Regions from separate parts of the Homo sapiens genome. Here region 2 is linked to region 1. The links are contacts of gene promoters, found by promoter capture Hi-C in human tissues and cell types (Jung and others, 2019). All regions are on one chromosome and are shown on one strand. The core of a region is centred on a gene start or on the middle of the fragment in contact, and the rest is flanking DNA. Distances in the headings are between cores, read along the strand shown. Region 1 holds the start of KLC3 (kinesin light chain 3). Region 2 has its middle 9.3 kb from the start of NECTIN2.

Evidence for each region. Contacts are between HindIII fragments. The study calls those that stand out against the background at their distance.
Region 2: a fragment that was not itself captured here is called in contact with the fragment with the promoter of KLC3 in region 1 in 2 of the 25 tissues and cell types used here (IMR-90 fibroblasts and lymphoblastoid cells).

What each region holds. Positions count from the first base shown.
Region 1 is chr19:45,338,868-45,342,369 of GRCh38, reverse strand. KLC3 (kinesin light chain 3) reads right to left here and starts at 1,620. Exons shown (of 13, transcript NM_177417.3): 1 at 1,524-1,620. RefSeq lists a silencer at 1,635-1,724. The HindIII fragment of the contact is 10,588 bases long and covers 1-3,502 here.
Region 2 is chr19:44,835,279-44,838,780 of GRCh38, reverse strand. No RefSeq gene overlaps it. Among named protein-coding and RNA genes, the nearest start is that of NECTIN2, 9.3 kb to the left of the region's middle. The HindIII fragment of the contact is 6,876 bases long and covers 1-3,502 here.

The sequences.
Region 1 (3,502 bases), core at 371-2,870:
AGCAATCCCCGCCGCCTCAGCCTCCCAAAGTGTTGAGATTACAGGTATGAGCCACTGCACCCGGCCAATCTGTGTGCTTGTGTATATCACACCATACCTATTCTCACACCTCACACACAAACATCATAAATGGTTGAACTCACAACCACACAGGTTCAAGAGTCATCCTGACAACCACAACCATTCTTCACACAATTTTGCCGATGTAAAACCTCCCTCTATAACCTCAGACACAGCCTTACACACACCACTCCACAGCCAGATTGACAACCACAGCAACAAACACGGCTCAACCACAGCCATCCAGCACTCGGGCTGTGTCCCAGACACACAGCAGCTCCCACACTCACACAGAGCCCCGGGTGCACAACCGCACAGCTGATAATCATAGGCACAGTCCCACACACTGATCCCTGACGCGGACCCCCTTTTCCATCCTGTCACCCGCTTGGAGGAGCATCCCACTTAAATGTCCACGTCTCCACTCCCATCTCCCACAAACTCTCCGTTGCACACCACTGCCAGCCACGGTATCAATGCAGATCACACACCCTCTAGTTCCTCTCTACACACACACACACACACACACACACGCACACACGGCTTCACACACCTCCACACCTCACTCATCCAACCCCAAGGTTCCACGCGCACCGTCCCATGAAACAGCTCCACTTCTGGACACAGTTCCGCCCAGCCCCATGCACCATCACAGTGACACACAATCAAAAGTCAATCATAGTCACCTATCACTGATCCAGTGCCACACTGTCCACCACACGCGCGCGCGCACACACACACACACACACACACACCAACAGGCAGAAAGACAACCACAGCCGCACAGCCTCTTGGTCAATCACACCTAATCCTACAACCAGTTCCACTCTCTGCCATGAAGACAGCCACACACACAGCCACACACATGCACATCAGGCCAAGCAGAAAGTCGACTACAGTCGCACTAGCTCTTGGTCGTAAAGTGCTACCAGCAATCCAATTCTACACACACACCATTCCAGTCAGAGGTCGCCCACGTTTTCACATTGCTAAAAGTGTCACATCATACACACAGTCCCATCACAGGGTTACACGGACAGTCGCTTTCACCCTCATACCCACAGCCTGACACACTCTCTTACACACACGCAAAGCCACACACACACACACACACACACACACAAACACAGGCAGGCAGGAGACTCCCATCGTGGCCCAGCCCCGCAAGCCGCACCAACTTACCCTGGCCTGCCCAGCCCCGCGCACCAGGCTCACCCGCAGTCACAAGGGCCCCCTCCCTCTCCCTCCCAGGCCCCGCCCCGTCCTCGCTGTTTACCTGCGCTGGGGTGGGGGGCATGGGACCCCAGCCAGGCCTCCAGATCCCGGAGAGCCCCAGGACGGGGCAGGGGGCATCCGGGAGCCCCAAGGCCCTTCCCCGTCTCAGGGCGAGCGGGCCCAGGGTTGCCCCCGCCCCCCATCATCGCGGCTCTCCGAGAGTCCCGCGCCCCACTCCCGGCACCCACCTGACCGCGGGCGGCTCCGGCCCCGCTTCGCCCCACTGCGATCAGTCGCGTCCCGCAGGCCAGGCACGCCCCGCCGCTCCCGCTGCGCCGGGCGTCTGGGACCTCGGGCGGCTCCTCCGAGGGGCGGGGCAGCCGGGAGCCACGCCCCCGCAGGTGAGCCGGCCACGCCCACCGCCCGTGGGAAGTTCAGCCTCGGGGCTCCAGCCCCGCGGGAATGGCAGAACTTCGCACGCGGAACTGGTAACCTCCAGGACACCTCGAATCAGGGTGATTGTAGCGCAGGGGCCTTGGCCAAGCTAAAACTTTGGAAACTTTAGATCCCAGACAGGTGGCTTTCTTGCAGTGCCTGCCCCAGAGCCTTTTCCTTGGTTGTGTGGCCTGCTTCGATCTCTCTTCCCACAGATCTCATCGTCTTTAGGTCTCTTCTCAAAGGCCACCTCCTCCGGCAGGCCTTCCCTGATTGCCCCCTTCTAAATGGCACCCTTCCACCAAAACATTACATACTCCTCTTGATTTTGTTCACAAAACTTTTCAGGGCCTAAAATTACCTTATTTATTTATTGAGAGGGAGTCTCGCTCCGTCACCCAGGCTGGAGTGCAGTAGCGCGATCTCGGCTCACTGCAACCTCCACCTCCCAAGTTCAAGCGATTCTCCCATCTCAGTCTCCCGAGTAGCTGCGACTACAAGTGTCTGCCACCACGCCCGGCTACTTTTTATATTTCTAGTAGAGACGGGGTTTCGCCATGTCGGCCAGGCTGGTCTCAAACTCCTGACCTCAAGTGATCCTCCCGCCTCGGCCTCCCAAAGTTCTGGGATTACAGGAGTGAGCCACCGCCCCCGGCCCCTAAAGTTATTTTATATAACATATATCACATCATTATGTTATGTTATATATTATGTTATTGGCAAGGGAATGTGATATCTAAGAATTGGGCTCAGGGTTCAAATTTGATTCCGGCACTTACTTGCTGTGCAGGCCTTGGGCAAGTAACTTAACCTCTCTGTGCCTCAGTTTCCCTAGTCAATAAAATATAAATAGTCTAAGGCTTTGAGAATTGAATGTTAACTAATACAGGGACAGTACTTTTTTTTTTTTTTTTTTTTTTTTGAGACACAGTCTCGCTGTGTTACCCAGGCTGGAGTACAATGGCGCTATCTTATCTTGGCTCACTGCAACTCCTGGGTTCAAGTCATTCTCCTGTCTCAGCCTCCCGAGTAGCTGGGATTACAGGCGCCCGCCACCATGCCCAGCTAATTTTTCCATTTTTAGTAGAGACGGGGTTTCCCCATGTTAGCCAGGCTGATCTCGAACTCCTGACCTTAGGTGATCTGCCCACCTCGACCTCCCAAAGTGCTGGAATTACAGGCGTGAGCCACCGCGCCTGGCCAGGACAGTACTTTTATCAGGGCCTCGCAAATAGAAAGTACTTAGTAAATACTCGCTACTGACTGTATATTATGGGTTCACTTTTTCTCCTCTACTATATAAGCTCTGAGGGCAGGGCTGTATATTGTCAGCACTGTTATCTTCAGCAAGAGCTTGATGCAAAGTCGGTGCTCAATAAATTGTGACTGAATGAAGGAATCAAGTCCTAGAATAGTAAGCTGGCCAAAGCTGGGAGGACACGATTCTAATATAACTTGAGGACGGCGCAGTGGCTCACACCTGTAATCCCAGCACTTTGGGAGGCCGAGGGGGCTGGATCACTTGAGGTCAGGAGTTCGAGACCAGCCTGGCCAACATGGTGAAACCCTATCTCTACTAAAAATACAAAATTAGCCGGGTGTGGTAGCGCACGCCTGTAATCCCAGCTACTTGGGAGGCTGAGGCAGGCGAATCGCTTGAACCCCAGAGGCAGAGGTTGCAGTGAGCCGAGATCACACCATTACACTCCTGCCTGGGCAACAAGAGCGAAACTCCATCTCAAAAATAAATAAATGCATACATACATACATGGCTCAATGCGCGCGGTACCCC
Region 2 (3,502 bases), core at 639-3,138, 500 kb after region 1:
AATGGTGTGATCTCGGCTCACTGCAACCTCCGCCTCCCGGGTTCAAGCGATTCTCCTGCCTGAGCCTCCCGAGTAGCTGGGATTACAGGTGCCTGCCACCACGCCCAGCTAATTTTTGTATTTTTAGTAGAGACGGGGTTTCTACTAAATCATGTTTGCCAGGCTGGTCTCGAACCCCTCACCTCAGGTGATCTGCCTGCCTCGGCCTCCCAAAGTTCTGGGATTACAGGCGTGAGCCACCGCACCTGGCCTTTATTTTTTTTTTTTTGAGACAGAGTGTCGCCCTGTCACCCAGGCTGGAGTGCAGTGGTGTGATCTCGGCTCGCTGCCACCTCCGCCTCCTGGGTTCAAGTGATCCTTGTGTCTCAGCCTCCTGAGTAGCTGGGATTACAGGCGCGTGCCACCATGCCCAGCTAATTTTTGTCTTTTTTTTTTTGTAGAGACAAGGTTTCACCATGTTGGCCAGGCTGGTCTCGAACTCATGACTTCAGGTGATCTGCCTGCCTCGGCCTCCCAAAGTGCTGGGATTACAGGTGTGAGCCACCGCACCTGGCCTAAGGCAACCTTTTTGCTTTTCTCTGTGTCTCTTTATTTTTCCTTAGATAATCACAATAATTAACATGTACTGCACATGGACTCTGTGCCAGGCTTTGTACTAAATACTTCCCTGGTTATCTCATCAAATTCTCCCCTCCATCCTCTGATCCTCTGTGTGCATTTGCTGTATTTTTTTAAAGGGAATTTTCAATTCTGTTATATAGGGAACAAGAGCCCTATAAATAAGGACACAGACAGGTGAAATGAAGGATGGATATTAAGAAGCAACTCAAGCCGGGCGTGGTGGCTCACACCTGTAATCCCAGCACTTTGGGAGGCTGAGGCAGGCGGATCATGAGGTCAGGAGATCGAGACCATCCTGGCGAACACGGTGAAATCTTGTCTCTACTAAAAATACAAAAAATTAGCCAGGCGTGGTGGCACCCGCCGGTAATCCCAGCTACTCGGAAGGCTGAGGCAGGAGAATCAGTTGAACCCGGGAGGCGGAGGTTGCAGTGAGCTGAGATCGCGCCACTGCACTCCAGCCTGGGCAACTGAGCAAGACTCCGTCTCAAAAAAAAAAAAAAAGCAACTCATGAGACCTGTTAGACATACTAAGAATGTGAGCTGAACACAGATGGGAGGGATGCAGGGATCCAGTAAGCTCCAAGCATTCATGCGTCCTGTGGGCGACACCCACTCTGCTCCATGAGTCCCAAGCCCAAGACACAGGTAAAAGCTGTGGCTGCCAAGCAGGTGATCAGCCAGCTACAGTCATCTAGCTTCTCATGTTTATTTTTGTTGTTGTTTTGAGACGGAGTCTCGCCCTGTTGCCCAGGCTGGAGTGCAGTGGCGTGATCTTGGCTCACTGCAAACTCCGCCTCCCGGGTTCAAGTGATTCTCATGCCTCAGCATCCCCAGTAGCTAGCATTACAGGTGTGCCCCCCTACCCCTGGCTAATTTTTGTATTTTTAGTAGAGATGGGGTTTCACCATGTTGGCCAGGCTGGTTGAGAACTCCTGACCTCAAGTGATCTGCTTGCCTCGACCTCCCAAAGTGCTGGGACTACTGTTATTTTATTTTTTGAGACAGGATCTCGCTCTGTTGCCCTGGCTGGAATGCAGTGGCTGGATCACGGCTCACTGCAGCCTCAGCCTCCCAGGCTCAAGGGATCCCCCTACCTCAGCCTCCCGAGTAGCTGGGACTACAGGCGTGTACCGCCACATCAGGCTAATTTTTGCATTTTTTGTAGAGACAGAGTCTCTGTTTGTTGCCAGGGCTGGTCTCGAACTCCTGGGCTCAAGTGATCCTCCTGCCTTGGCCTTCCAAAGTGCTGGGATTACAGGCCTGAGCCACAGCGCCCAGCCTGTTTTATTTTTTGAGTTTTGCACAACATCTTTTGTTTTAATCAAATCTCTTTGTTTTACTCCCATAGATTTGGCTTCAAAATTGAAGATCTAGATTCCATGTCCAGAGAAAGAGAGAACCTGATGAGTCTTGAGAACAAGACCAGGGACAAGATCTCTGAGCTGGAGTTCAAGGTCAACAGCCCACTTTGGTTAACAAGAGGCACCTCCTGGCTGTCCAGTGCTTCCTCGTGGAGGAGTCAACTGCTTCTCTTGGGAGGTGGAGGGTGTTCCCATCCAAGTGCCTCCTCAGGCCCTAGAGAGTCAGGGATTGGTTGCAGTTCCTGAAGTCTCTTCCTAGGTCTGTGGACCTTCTAAGGAATTCCACTGACCACTTTCCCCACTGGAGTCCAGCAACACCATTAGGATGTGAATTATTATTATTATTATTATGTCTTGGAGACAGGATCTTGCTCTGTCTCCCAGCCTGGAGTACAGTAATGCCATCATAGCTCGCTGCAGCTTTGACTTTCTGGACTTGAGCGATCCTCCCACTCTGAGTAGTGGGGACTGCAGGTGTGTGCCACCATGTTTGGCTAATTTAAAAATTTTTTTGTAGAGATGGGATCTTGCTGTGTTGCCCAGGCTGGTCTTGAATTCCTGACCTCAAGTGATTTTCCCGCCTTGAGCTCCCAAAGTGCTGGGATTACAGGCGTGAGCCACTGTGCCTGGTGGGTTGTGAAGTTTGTTCATTGATGTCTCCCCAGTGCCTGGCACACAGTAAACACTCAATACACTTTTTATTTTTTTGAGACGGAGTCTCGCTCTGTTACCCAGGCTGGAGTGTAGTGACTCGATCTCAGCTCACTGCAACCTCCGCCTCCAAGTTTCAAGTGATTCTCCTGCCTCAGCCTCCCGAGTAGCTGTGACTACAGGCATGCACCACAATGCCAGGCTAATTTTTGTATTTTTAGTAGAGATGGGGTTTCACCATGTTAGCCAGGCTGGTCTCGAACTCTTGACCTCAGGTGATCAGCCAGCCTTGGCTTCCCAAACTGTTGGGATTACAGGCGCGAGCCACCACGCCCTCTGAACTTTTCTTGAAGGTATGATTGCGTGAATGGAGGAATGAATCCTCAGGTGTGTTTTGCCAGGGGCTGGCCAGGCATGGCTTTCCCAGTAGGTGCTCTATTGCATTGGAAAGGTGGAACAGGCTTGACTTCCATGTTTGTGAATATAAACTGGCCTCTTAGGTCTTTCTTTCCTCCAGTCTTTCCTCCTCAGGCATAGATGGTAAACAAAATGTCACCAACCTCACCAGCAAAGTGCTCATTTCCCTGGGGCCAGAACATGATGTACACAGACACAAATTTAGCATATTTGATATCATGATATCATGCCCACCTGGTGGGGTCAGCTGGGTGGGCTGCCCACCTGGGCCCCAAACCTCTCTCGCACTCTTCCTGGGAATCTATCCTTTTGCTGAGACTGCAGGCTATGCCTCTTGGAGGTGGTAAACAGAACTTCAAGGGGCAGAGACAGGTACATGAGGCACCACACAGACCCACTGACCCAGTCTGGCTCCAGGGTTAAACAGATCTTGAGACAATGAAAATAAA